Regions from separate parts of the Homo sapiens genome. Here all the other regions are linked to region 3. Evidence: promoter capture Hi-C in human tissues and cell types (Jung and others, 2019). All regions are on one chromosome and are shown on one strand. The core of a region is centred on a gene start or on the middle of the fragment in contact, and the rest is flanking DNA. Distances in the headings are between cores, read along the strand shown. Region 1 holds the start of LOC105372997 (a long non-coding RNA gene). Region 2 overlaps LIMK2 (LIM domain kinase 2). Region 3 holds the start of MORC2 (MORC family CW-type zinc finger 2).

Region 1 (4,737 bases), core at 791-3,290, 340 kb after region 3:
GGTGTCCTTTAGATAATTCATCTATTAGGAAACACAGTGAATGTTACACATTCTTCATATATATTCCTCATACAGATTGAGAGCTTCTGCTATTATTCCATTACAGTCAGCAAAATGGAGAGAGAAAGGAAAAAGAATCTCAGACAAGATCATAGAGTGATTGTGGCTGGAAGGAAGTCCAAGGACAACAGAAATCAACATTTTATTACAATGAGGCCCAATTATATGATCTGATTGCTGCCCTTCTCACCCTCTGTGAAGCCCAGTTAACAGAAATGAGCAGTGCTGTGGGAGGTGTCATAAGTGGACTCAAATTGGCCCCAGAATGGCAAACTCTGAGTTCAATAATAGATTAAGTACCAGCTTCAAACACTCAGTGTGTTCTCTGAGTTCCCAAAGATATTTCTACCTGGAGCTTTCTTCTACACTTACCTTAATGGCTCAGTTGGAAGTCAGCCATCACTGCTAAGTGTTCTTAGTTCTATGCAGCATTGGCAGGAGCTTCCCTATTATCCTGATGTTAGTAATAGAAAGTCTGCCCAGTTGTAGCCAGGCTGTTCCCCCTAAAGCAATAGTGGAGCATTTCCACTTTCTAGGATCTTGTCCTTTCCAACACTGAGTGGACTAACCTCTTGTCACTTTCACCAGTCATTAGATTTATGAGAAAATCTCCCCATTCCTAGAGTGGATCTGCTATCAGGCAGCAATCTGCTTTTTGCTCTGAATTTCTGATCTCTTGGATACAGTAGGAGAATCTGCTCCGATGAACATTAAATTAATATATGTAAAGCATTTAGAAGAATGCCTCACACATATTAAGAGTTTCTGCTATTATCATTAATACTATCGTTGTTATTGCCACCATCTAGGATCAGAAGCTAGAGCTTAGCTGAACATCTAATTCTTGCTCTTGTTATTCTGAGTGGTTTAGCAAATCCAATTTATCTGGAAATGGGGCTGAATATGTTTGGTTTCCGCTCAATTTTGTGGCCATTGCCACTTCAAAGAGTTTTCAAAAGGTCAAAATGTTATCATTTTAGTGTTTTTACTTCTTAGGGCTTCAACATCCCCTCTCTGGATTCTTAAGAGACTCTGATCCTGAATCAGTGAAATGGATAATCGAGCAATCTCTGCATGAAAGATGTACATTTTATCCAGTCATCCAGTGTTTAACAAACACCAGCTCAATGTGGGACAGTAATAAATGTCATCGCTAACATTTATTGAGCACCTAGTATGTGCCAGATACTGTTCTAAGTGCTTTATATATACTATCTCATTTATTCTTCATAAAAACCCTATATATAGGCACTGTTATTATCTTCCTTTTACAAATGAAGAAACAATCATAAAGAGGTTAAGTAATTTGCGTAAAGCCACAAAGATAAGTGAAAGAGCTGGGATATGTACCCAGGCAGTCATATCTCATAGCTTTTGCTAGTTACCACCTCACTGTACTGACAGGGAGAACCCTGGATTTAAGAGGCAGAAGTTCGGCTGGGCGCGGTCGCTCACGCCTGTAATCCCAGCACTTTGGGAGGCCGAGGTGGGCAGATCACGAGGTCAGGAGATTGAGACCATCCTGGCTAACACGGTGAAACCCCGTCTCTACTAAAAGTAGAAAAAATTAGCCGGGCGTGGTGGCAGGCGCCTGTAGTCCCAGCTACTTGGGAGGCTGAGGCAGGAGAATGGCGTGAACCTGGGAGGCAGAGCTTGCAGTGAGCTGAGATCACACCACTGCACTCCAGCCTGTCTCAAAAAAAAAAAAAAAAAAAAAAGAGGCAGAAGTCCAATCTGGTCTCAACTCCTCCATTCCATCATTTAACAAGTTGAATGACCTTAGGTATACCTTTCTTGAAACTCAAGTTTCTTTATCTGTAAAATGGATAGGGTAATACGTACTTCACAGGATGGTTGTGAAGACTGTTATGTGCCCTGGACTTCTTAGGCATTCAGTAAATGTTAGCTTCTCTCACTACCCGATTCTAAGCACTACACTGGTGCTCAAGATTGACTAAGAAAGTTGTACCTCCGGCCGGGCGCAGTGGCTCATGGCCGTAATCCCAACACTTTGGGAGGCTGAGACGGGCGGATCACGAGGACAAGAGATCGAGACCATCCCGGTCAACATGGTGAAATCCCGTCTCTACTAAAAATACAAAAATTAGCTGGGCATGGTGATGTGCGCCTGAAATCCCAGCTACTGGGGAGGCTGAGGTAGGAGAATCACTTGAACCCGGGAGGCAGAGGTTGCAGTGAGCCGAGATCGTGCCATTGCACTCCAGCCTGGCGACAGAGCAAGACTCTGTCTCAAAAAAAAAAAAAAACAGAAAAAGTTCTACCTCCTTGTGGTCCCAGTCTGGGATGAAGAGGGAAGAAGAGGACAAATATGGGACCAGGTCATTATGGTATAGTATAAGAAATACCACTTTAGAGGAATATACAGAGAGAAGAATACAGAAAGTTACATTTTCTGAGATGGGGCAAGGAGGAGTTGAAGTTTCAGGGTACCAGTGACATTTGTGTTGGGCATTGAAAAACAGGCTTGGATGGGATGGACAGAAGGCACAAAAGTTTCTGAGCAGAAGAAACAGCATGTGTGCAGGCGCTAAAGTATGGCAGAGCTCAGAGTATGTGTTCTAGTAATGGCTAGAGGTTTGGTATGCAGTTGGGTATTGGAGGTGAGATGGTAACTGAGTAGTAACAAATGAGTTTGCAAAGAGAGGCATTCAAGGCTTCAGATGTCAGTTATGTCCCAGCACCACGAAGACAGTAAAACATAGACATCTTTTAAAAGAAAATTTACCGAAAGTAAATAAATTTAGCAACAAAAACTTTATAAATGCTCTTTTCTATTGAGATACAATTCACATATCATGAAATTCATCATTTTACAGCATACAGTTCAGTAGTTGTTAGTACCTGTGCGTCACTTAACAACAAGGATAGGTTCTGAGAAATGCGTCATGCAAACATCATAGAGTATAATTACACAAACCTAGACGGGACAGCCTACTACATATCTAGGCTATATGGTGTAACCTACTGATCTCAGGCTACAAACCTGTACAGCATCTAACTGTACTAAATACTATAGGCAACTTTAACACAATGATAAGTATTAGTGTATCTAAACATAGAAAAGGTACAGTAAAAATATGGTATTATAATCTTATAGCGGGGATCCCCAAACCCCAGGGCTGTGGCCAGTTAGGAACCCAGTAGCACAGCAGGAGGTGAGCAGCAGGTGAGCAAACATTACCATCTGAGCTCTGCCTCTTGTCAGATCAGTGGTGACATTAGATTCTAATAGGAGTGTGAACCCTATTGTGAACTGCACATGCTAGGGATCTAGGTTGCGCACTCCTTCCAAGAATCTAACTAATGCCTGATGATCTGAGGTGGAACAGTTTCATCCTGAAACCATCCCCCCATCACCCCCAGTCCATGGAAAAATTGTCTTCCATGAAACCAGTCCCTGGTGCCAAAAAGGTTGGGGACCACTGTGTTATAGGACCACTGTCATATATGCGGTCTGTTGACTGAAACATCATTATGTGGCTCATGTCTGTATATTCACAAGGTTGTGTAACCATCACCGCTATCTAATTCCAGAACACTTCATCACCCCAAAAAGAAACGCTGGTACCTGTCTACAGCCATACCACCCTGAACATGTGCAATCTTGTCTGATCTCAGAAGCTAAGCAGGGTTGAGTCTGGTTAGTACTCAGATGGGAGAAACCTAGTACCTGTTGGCAGCCACTCTTCATTTTCCTTTCTCCTCACCCTCTGGCAACCTCTGATCTCCTTCTTTTTTAAATAATAATAATAATAATTATTATTATTATTATTATTATTATTGTTATTATTATTTTGAGACGGAGTCTCGCTCTGTCAGCCAGGCTGGAGTGCAGTGGCATGATCTCGGCTCACTGCAAGCTCCGCCTCCCAGGTTCACGCCATTCTCCTGCCTCAGCCTCCCGAGTAGCTGGGACTACAGGCGCCCGCCAGCGTGCCCGGCTAATTTTTTGTATTTTTAGTAGAGACGGGGTTTCACCACGGTCTCGATCTCCTGACCTTATGATCCACCCACCTTGGCCTCCCAAAGTGCTGGGATTACAGGCGTGAGCCACTGCGCCTGGACTCTTTTTTAAAATTTTTATTATTTTATTTGTTATTGTCCCAAGTGTTCCAAGTAAATACTGATCTCTTTGTATTTCTATGGATATGCCTATTCCAGACATTTTATGTAAATGGAATCATACTATATGCAACCTTTTGTGTCTGGCTTCTTCTACTAAGCATGATGTTTTGAAGGTTCATCTAAGTTGTAGCATGTATCAGCATTTCTTTTTATGGCTGAATAATATTCCTGTGTATGGATGTACCATATTTTGTTTATCTAGTCATCAGTTGGTGGACATTTGAGTTGTTTCCACCTTTTGGCTATTATGAATAATGCTACTATGAATATTCATGTACAGGTTTTTGTTTGATACCTGTTTTCATTTCTTTTGAGTATATACCTAGGAGTGGCATTGCTGGTTATTCTGTGTTTAACTTTTCGAGGAACCATCAAACTATTTTCTTTTCTTTTTCTTTTTTTTTTTTTTTTTGAGATGGAGTCTCGCTCTGTCACCCAGGCTGGAGTGCAGTGATGTGATCTTGGTTCACTGCAATCTCCGCCTCCTGGGTTCAAATGACTCTCCTGCCTCAGCCTCACGAGCAGCTGCGA
Region 2 (4,507 bases), core at 392-2,891, 280 kb after region 3:
GATTGATTGATTTTTTTTTTCTTTTTGAGACAGAGTTTCACTCTTGTTGCCCAGGCTGGAATGCAATGGCACGAACTCAGCTCACCGCAACCTCTGCCTCCTGGGTTCAAGCGATTCTCCTGTCTCAGCCTCTCGAGTAGCTGGGATTACAGGCATGTGCCACCACGCCTGGCTAATTTTTGTATTTTTAGTAGAGACAGGGTTTCTCCATGTTGGTCAGGCTAGTCTCGAACTTCCAACCTCAGGTGATCTGCCCGCCTCAGCCTTCCAAAGTGCTGGGATTACAGGCGTGAGCCACCATGACTGGCCTGATTGACTGATTTTTTTAGTAGAGATAGGGTCTTGGTTTGTTACCCAGGCTGGTCTCAAACTTCTGGCTTCAAGCAGTCCTCCCTCCTTGGCCTCTCGAATGCTGGGATTATAGGCATGAGCCACTATGCCTGGCCTATATGACCTGTGATTTTTAATGGTTAGGGGAAAAAAAGCAAAAGAATGCTTTGTGACATGTGGAAATTACATGAAACTCAAATATCAGTGTCCCAGCCTGGGCAACAAAGTGAGACCCTGTCTCTACAAAAAATAAAAAAAAATAAGCCAGGGCCGGGCGCAGTGGCTCACACCTATAATCTCAGCACTTTGGGAGGCCGAGGCAAGTGGATCACCTGAGGTCAGGAGTTCAAGACCAGCCTGACCAATATGGTGAAACCCTGTCTGTACTAAAAACACAAAAATTAGCCGAGCATGGTGGCATGCGCCTGTAGTCCCAGCTACTTGGGAGGCTGAGACAAGAGAATTGCTTGAACCTGGGAGGCGGAGGTTGCAGTGAGCCAAGATCGCGACACTACACTGCAGCCTGGGCAACAGAGCGAGACTCCGACACACGCACGCACGCACACACACACACACACACACACACACACACACGCTGGGTATGGTGGCCAGCACGTGTGGTCCCAGGATGCACTGGAGGCTTAGGTAGGAGGATCACTTGAGCTTAGGTGGTTGAGACTACAATGAACCATGTTTATACCACTGCACTTTAGCCAGGGCAACAGTGTGAGACTGAATCTCAAAAGAAAAAAAAAAAAAAGAAAAAAATCTTTCCATAAGTAAATATCTGTTGGAACATAGCCATGTCCCTTAGTTTATGTTTTATATATGGCTGCTTTTGCCCTATAATGACACAATTGAGTGGCCACGACAGTCTGTATGGCCTGCAGAGCCTAAGATATTTGCTCTCTGGCCCTTTACAGAAAAAGTGCCTTGACCTGTGCTCTAGAGCCATATGTACCAGGTTTGAAACTCAGCCTCACAGCTGGGTGTGATGGCACGCATCTGTAGTCCCAGCTACTCTGGAGGCTGAGGTGAGAGGATCACTTGAGTCCAGAAGGTCGAGGTCAAGATTGTAGTGAGCCATGATGGCATCACCGCACTCCAGCCTGAGTGACAGAGAGAGACCCTGACTCAAAAAAAAAAAAACAAAAAAAAAAAACACCCTCACCACTTATCAGCTATTTGTCTTGAGAATAGTGACATAACCCCTCAGAACCTATTTCCTAATCTGTTAAATGAGGCTGATGACGTTTCCTCCTTTTACTGGCAATTTAAACATGATGGATAATAAATGCTAAGCACTTAACACAGGGCCTAGAAGATATTAACTGCTCAATAAATGGTAGCTTCTTAACAGTATTCAAACCCATGTGCTCTTATCACATGCATTGTTGTCCCTGTGTCCAGTTGGTGGAATGGGAAAAGGCTCCCTTGTAACCCCATCTACCATCTTTATCAGACTTTCCTGCCATGGTTCACAGTAAGAGATAGAAGCTGCACGGTGACTTCTGGCTCTTTACAATGGTGAGCGGTGTGTGCCTGGTAAGGGAGAGCTGATGTCACTGCCCCAAATCCAGTAGTGAGATCTGAGTGTTCTGGTTTCCTCCAGCAGCCTTGCTTTTTCCTTTACAATCCTGCAGGCAGGGAGACAAGGGCTTTCTACATGGTAGGCTCTGGTTTGGTCATCGTCACAACTGGGGGCTGTTCAGGTGGGCTCCCATTCCAGATACCTAGGCTTATCAATCCCTTTTGGCACCCCAGGCCTTTTTCTCCCTCATGCCCCATTTTTCAGTTTGAAAAGCATGGTTATCACAGGACAAGTAGAAGAAGCTCCACTGTCCACTGAGGCCAATGGATGGTGTTCTGCATGTGAACACTCAGTGAATAGTGAGTGAATGAGAGTAACCTGGGCTCCATCCTATTTGCAGAGAGCTTTGGAAAAGATTTTTCTCCTTAAAGAGCCAGAATGAAGCCTGGTAGTGGGAGAGCTCCAGCTCTAGAGTCACATGAGCCTACATTTAAATTCCAGCCCTGCCACTGACTCCCTTTTTGACCTTGAGTGAGTTACCTAATCTCTCTGTACCTCACTTTTCTTGTCTGTAGAGTGGGAATAATTCCTGTCTCAGAGAAATAAAAGAGTGCATATAGTGTTTGCCACATGGAGACACATCAGGTGTAGGTTAATACTCTGGGCCTTGTTTCCTTATTTGCAACACAGCCCTGCCCTGGAGTGGAAGTGGCACCTCCCATTGGTCAGCTCTTGAGGCTGTCCCCAGGACAGGCAGAGGGAGGGAATGAATGGGAGCCCTAGTGCCAGGACAGAACAGATGGCAGCTCAGAGCTAGGATGGCTCTCTGGACCTGTCTCTCCTACCAGAGGTCCCCCCGTCTGGTGTGGCTCTTCCTGGACCTGGCATCCTCTGCTTTTTTTTTTTTTCCACCTCCAAGCAGAATTACTGTCCTGTAGGCAGCTCCTCTGCTTGAGGACATCTGGGGCCAGATATGTTCACACTCTATCCTGCCTTGCCCTTCCCTGAGCTCAGGATGGACGCTCAATTGGTCCCAGTTATTGTCTGCAGCGCCTGCCTGCAGCCTCGATCCAGCCCAGCTCCACCCCTTGCCTGCAAGGTCTGTTTCCTAACAGCTGCTCCAACCACACACCTCGGTTCTGCGGGAGCCCCTCCTCTTCCTCCCTCCCTCCCTCATTCAGGGGTGGGACTGAAGAAGAAGGCTAACTTGACAGCAGCGCTTCTTTCTTAGCTAGTCACCGGCCCCTGCTCAAGAATGCCAGTGTGTGTGTAGCCTCCACAGAGAGGTCGTTTTCTCGGAGTCCAGAGGGGCCGCCTGAGCTTCTGAGAACTAGGGAGGAGCCATCCCAGCCATGAGCCCCTGTGGGAATCTGCTGGGGGCCAAGTGGCCTGGAGTCCTCAGGCTCCCGCAGCTGCTCCGGAGGGAGAGGTGAGCTCAGGGCAGCCTGCCTGCAGCCAGAGGTGCCGGGAGCCCCGGGCCTGTCATGGTGGCCATCTACAGCCGGCCTGAGGCAGTCACAGACGGATTTGCAGCTGAGCCTGTCTATCTGGTGTGGGAAGAAGATGGGGAGTTACTTGTCAGTCCCGGCTTACTTCACCTCCAGAGACCTGTTTCGGTGAGTTGGTCTCCGAGTTCCCCTCTCCATCTCTCCTGGCCCCTGGTCCTGAGAGGAGGGTGGTCTCCCTAAATCTCCTTCTCACTTAGTCCTTTACCATCGGTTCTGCCGGGCAGAAGCCAGCGGAGGTTATACCCAAGGAGAATCGGCCTTGTGAGGTACCCCCATTATGTCCTGGAAGTGGTGAGGGGAGGGATATACCCAGAAGGAACTTCTTAGGGAGCTCCAGCTCCCCTTCTATCCCAGACAAACCTGAAGGAGCCTCCAAAAGATGCCACTGACCTGCCCATTGTAGATGTTACTGCTTCCGGGGGGAATAGCCCAAATAGAGTGCTGTTTCCAGCTCTCACATGTCTTACCTGCGGGCCATGCTGCCTGCCCAGGAATTTGTCCCAACAAGCAGGATGGGCAGGTTTTGCCAAACTGTGGAAACTGGCAAGTCCTGGGTGTGGGTAGCCTGGTACACAGTAGGCACCTTATAAACGTTTGTTCTCTTAATGGCAGGCACATTTGCCTCTGGCCTTGAAGGGCTTCTGAGCTCCCAGGTGAATGTAGTTGCTGGGGAAAGACCTGGGCGAGTGCTTCTAAGACTGGAGCAATGGGCTTTAGAGTGTTCCTGAGCTGCTGGGCCAGCCCCCACACCTCCTCAGTCCCTAGGCCTAAGTACCTCCACGAGCCTCTCTCTGTGGGGCTTCTCAGAGGGAGATGTGGAAACTCTACCTCTAACCTGGCTTTCTTTGCTCATTGCCCCACTCCACCTCCCATAGAAACTCCCCAGGGGGTTTCTGGCCCTCTGGGTCCCTTCTGAATGGAGCCATTCCAGGCTAGGGTGGGGTTTGTTTTCATTCTTTGGGAGCAGCCTGTTGTTCCAAAAAGGCTGCCTCCCCCTCACCAGTGGTCCTGGTCGACTTTTCCCTTCTGGCTTCTCTAAGCTAGGTCCAGTGCCCAGATCTTGCTGCCGGGATACTAGTCAGGTGGCCAGGCCCTGGGCAGAAAAGCAGTGCACCATGTGGTTTTGTGGAATGACCGG
Region 3 (4,586 bases), core at 1-2,500:
TGTTGGATTCCTATAAACACTTGAATGAAACAACTCAACATATTGACTTCAAATAACTAAAGTTTGCATTTAGAAAATTTTGATCCAATAAACAAAAATCAGATTCTTCTGGATTAGCAACAAGTATTTCACTGATCTCAGTTCTTCAATACAGAGCTCAAGATATCCAGTGACACATTTCACTCCAGTGGGATACATCTCAAAAAGTGAAAAAGCAAAATTTTCTGGGGAAACGATTTCCATATAATATCAAGGAACGAGTTACTGGTTACCTCAGTGGCACCTAGAGGATACTTACGAATTTGTGTGCAGATATTCAAAGGTTAGCTGAGCTCGATTCAGACTGCTGTAATTTGTGAAAGCCATGACTGCAATAAGGTCTCCAGCCCTTCACCCGCTAACTGGGAAATATAACCTTATAATGATATCGATTTCCCAGGATTCTGTCCAGTAAAGCTTCAGTAAGTCTGTGCTCCTTAATGACAGTTAAAGTAACCTAGTAGCTATCCAAAATATATGCAGAGATGTTTAAAACTACAATTTCTTCAAGTGTTTTTTTTTAATCTTCTCAATGATTTATGATGTAATATTTTGGAAGGAACTATGTCATAAATCTGTAGCTTTAAGGAGCTTTTAGCATTAAGTTGCGATAGCTCAATTCAGACAATCTGAGTCTCGTGTGGATGGTCCTGAAGGAGATGGTCCTTGAGTGGGTGGTTTATGACTGCTCCATCTTCATGTTCTTCCAGCCTTTTTTGGTTCCCCGAAATTTCCTGTCAGGAAATTTACCAACGCGGAAATTTACCCACTTCTGTCAGAAAACTGATCAGCCATGTCTTCGCCACACGTGATGCCAGGATTCTTAAACAGGCCCAAGACCGGAGACCAAGATGTCGACGGAGTGTTATATGGCGCAAGTTGCAGCTTCACCACCTCCCAAGTGAAAAAGCTCCTAGGCACTCACGATTTCTTTTTTCAAAGCCGGACCAAACCCAGTTCAGGGTGGTGGTCAGATTACCTCACACTTGGCCCACATAAACACCTCACAAATGACCCGCCCACAGCACCTCGGGCAGGCCGCGCCCCGCCCCCACGTCCCTCAGACAACAGCCTCAGCCTCCCAGGCCCTTCCCGGGCCTCGGTCCCGTGGCCGCCTCCCCACGAAGAGGAGCTACTCCCGGCTTCCAAGGACCGGATCGAGGGCAGTGGCGAGCGCACCACCTGACCGGGCACTACCCGGATCTCACAACTGCCTTTGTCCCTCCCCGCGGAATTGGAACCCAACAGCCGCAGAGCGCTCTTGGAACCATGTGCTGCTGCCGCCTCCGCCGCCGCCGCCGCTGCCTCCGCCGCCGCCCGCGCGCCGCCCGCGCGCCGCGCTAGTTGAGATGGTGACAGGATTCAGCAACACGAAATTCGGCGTTTAGAGCTGCTCTGCCGCCGCCGTCACAGACACCACAGCCACCGCTTTGTCTCCGATAGTGCACACAGCCCCGGCCACCTCGCACACTCCCCGACGCCCCAAGCCCCCGAGGCCTCCGCGGAGCATTCAGCCAATCACAAAGCTGCAGCTCCTCCCGCCCCCGCCCTGATGTACAGCCTCCTGATTGGCGGGCTGCGTGTCCCCATGTGACCGGATCTTGGTTGGCCGGTCCCGCCCCTGTCACGTGACAGCGTGCGCCTCTCTTCCTGCTTTCCTGACCCTCTCCGCCATTTAAAGAAACAGTACCGGGGGCGGGCCGAGCGACGCAGCCGGGACGGTAGCTGCGGTGCGGACCGGAGGAGCCATCTTGTCTCGTCGCCGGGGAGTCAGGCCCCTAAATCGAAGAAGCCCTGGCGCGCCCTCCCCCCCTCCCGGGTCTGGTAGGGCGAAGGAACGGGCGTGCGGTCGATCGAGCGATCGGTTGGCGGCTCTTTCTCCTGCTCTGGCATCCAGCTCTTGGGGCGCAGGCCCGGCCGCCGCGGCGCGCGCCCGGTGGCCGTTGGCGCTCGCGCCGCGTCTTTCTTCTCGTACGCAGAACTCGGGCGGCGGCCTATGCGTTTGCGATTCGACGAGGAGTCGTCCGGGTGGTCGGCGGCGGCGGGCAGCTGCTCCGCCCCGCTCCGGGGGAGGCGGCGGCGGCAGCGGCCGCGGGATTTGGAGCGGCCGGGGAGGCGGGGGTGGCCGGGGCCGGCTTGGAGGCCTGGCGCCACCCTTCGGGGCCTGCAAGGACCCAGTTGGGGGGGCAGGAGGGGGCCGGAGGATGGTTGGTTGTGGGATTTCTACTTTGCCTTTTCCTCCTTATGCCGCCTTAGTGAGGGGCGGGAGCTCTGGCGGCAGCCCCGGGGTGGGGAGACGAGCTCCGGAGTCGGAAGAGCTGGGTTTTCTTCCGGGCCTAGCCACCAGTTGGCGGAGTGACCTTAGGCGAGTCACTCTGTAATTTGTCTGCGCCTCAGTTTCCTCCTCTGCCTATCAATGTGTGTGGGGTTGAAATCGCTTTGTAAACTATAAAGCGTGGGTGTACGTAAAGGATGGTTATTGTTTATAATTTTTTTTGAGTTGTAAGAAAACTTAGCAGTTCCCCAATCCTTGGGTTTTGAACCTGGGAACCTTGGATTGGAGTTGGGGATCCCCAAACTTCCTGAAATTGTGGGAATGTGCGGTTTGGGGGAATGATGGGAATTTGTGGGAATGTGCGTTTTAGGGGAATGATGATCCATCGCTAGCAAGTTTTCCAAGGGGGCTGTGACCCAGAAGAGTTAAGAATCACAATTTCTTCATGCTACAGAGAGGAAACTGAGGCCTAGATGTCATTTGGGACCCTTCACAACCATTTTGAAGCCCTGTTTGAGTCCCTGGGATATGTGAGCTGTTTCTATGCATAATGGATATTCGGGGTTAACAACAGTCCCCTGCTTGGCTTCTATTCTGAATCCTTTTCTTTCACCATGGGGTGCCTGAAGGGTGGCTGATGCATATGGTACAATGGCACCCAGTGTAAAGCAGCTACAATTAGGAGTGGATGTGTTCTGTAGCATCCTATTTAAATAAGCCTATTTTATCCTTTGGCCCGTCAACTCTGTTATCTGCTGCTTGTACTGGTGCCTGTACTTTTCTGACTCTCATTGACCATATTCCACGACCATGGTTGTCATCCATTACTTGATCCTACTTTACATGTCTAGGCTGTGTGGTTGGTGGTGAATAGGCTTCTTTTTACATGGTGCTGCCAGCCCAGCTAATTAATGGTGCACGTGGACTTTTAGCAAGCGGGCTCACTGGAAGAGACTGAACCTGGCATGGAATTCCTGAAGATGTTTGGGGTTTTTTTCTTTCTTAATCGAAAGTTAACATTGTCTGAAAAGTTTTGTTAGAACTACTGCGGAACCTCAAAATCAGTAGATTTGGAAGTGATTCAAAGCTAAACTTTTTCCTTGGCCCTCCTTGTGTTCTAATTGCTTGCAAGTGTAATACTAGGATGTCCAAGATGCCAGTTTTTGCTTCTTTGTTAGTTGTCAGCTGCTTTTATCAAATTTCAGGCCATTATCCAACAAACACTATAAAAATGTTTGAACAATTGGATTTCAAACATTTTCGTTTTGTGGAGTGGTGCTCACCAAGTGGTACAGCCCTAAGCAAGTGAACACAAACACATTTAAGTGTATTTTGTCTGATTAGATGTTAGCCAGTTATGCTATTTCATTCAAATGTCTGAAAAAATCAATTGACTATTCCCTTTTCCTAAAGGGCAGAGACAGATAATCTCACTTCCAGAGAAATGACTTGGAGAAAAAAAAGTGTTGGTCTTTTTGCTCTTTTGTAATTAAATCCGGATGTACCTCAAAAGACTTAAGACTGTGGTGATAAGATGCTTTCCTCAGCAGAAAGGAGGGAAAAAAAACAACTGGAACTCAAAGCTTGAAATTCTGTGGCAAAACATGAGATGTCCAGGATTGGAGGTTGAAAAGATTTCACTACAGTGTTCTGCAATAGTTGGAGCAGATAACTTTCAGTGTAGCCACAGCCATGGACTCCAGATTTCCAGATTTTCAAGACCTGGACCTGGAACCCGAAAGAGCTTGTCACGATGCGGCAGGAACACTGGAGGTAGATTTTTTTTTATTTTTGAATTTTGGGACTGTTGACCTTGCTGTGAGAAAAGAGACAACGACTGAGCAAGCACTACCACCAGCACTGTTACTGGGAATTAGAAGACCTGAGTTTCTGTCCAGACCCTCAGTGCAAACTGAGGATGCTCCATCCAAAGTGAATTATGGTACTTGCCATTTTCCAAAATGCCTTATCCTTTACCATCTCTGCACTTTTGTTCATACTCTCATTCTACTTTGGAACTGCTGCTCTGTGGCTTTTCATCTGTCAAAACTGCCATTTTCTCAGTATCCAACTCTTATGCCCTCTTTTCCATGAGTCTCCTAACTAGCCAGAATAGAGCTTTAAAGTTTTATGACATTTCGTTATGTATCCTCTATCTGTATACAAAATCCTGTAAAATAGTTACTTGCCTGCATTTACTGTCTTTGCAGATAGCAGACTCCTTGAAAGCAGGGTCCTTGTTTAGTGCATCTTTGCCCACATACACCACAAC

What was found. The method cuts DNA at HindIII sites, captures the fragments that hold promoters and counts their contacts. A contact is called where the count stands out against the background at its distance.
Region 1: a fragment that was not itself captured here is called in contact with the fragment with the promoter of MORC2 in region 3 in 1 of the 25 tissues and cell types used here (dorsolateral prefrontal cortex).
Region 2: a contact is called between a fragment that was not itself captured here and the fragment with the promoter of MORC2 in region 3, in 1 of the 25 tissues and cell types used here (mesendoderm cells).

What each region holds. Positions count from the first base shown.
Region 1 is chr22:31,301,753-31,306,489 of GRCh38, forward strand. It overlaps LOC105372997 (a long non-coding RNA gene), which reads right to left and starts at 1,034. Exons shown (of 4, transcript XR_001755493.3): 1 at 1-1,034. It also overlaps the pseudogene RNA5SP496. The HindIII fragment of the contact is 8,851 bases long and covers 1-4,737 here.
Region 2 is chr22:31,245,293-31,249,799 of GRCh38, forward strand. All of the region lies in intron 2 of LIMK2 (LIM domain kinase 2), which reads left to right. Among named protein-coding and RNA genes, the nearest start is that of LIMK2, 35 kb to the left of the region's middle. RefSeq lists enhancers at 2,201-3,091, 3,092-3,981. The HindIII fragment of the contact is 8,275 bases long and covers 1-4,507 here.
Region 3 is chr22:30,967,524-30,972,109 of GRCh38, forward strand. It overlaps MORC2 (MORC family CW-type zinc finger 2), which reads right to left and starts at 1,251. Exons shown (of 26, transcript NM_001303256.3): 1 at 299-1,251. The coding sequence starts at 366. It overlaps TUG1 (taurine up-regulated 1), which reads left to right and starts at 1,742. Exons shown (of 3, transcript NM_001396518.1): 1 at 1,742-4,256. The coding sequence starts at 1,834. The coding sequence ends at 2,295. RefSeq lists an enhancer at 1,653-1,982 and a silencer at 2,013-2,262. The HindIII fragment of the contact is 8,152 bases long and covers 1-4,586 here.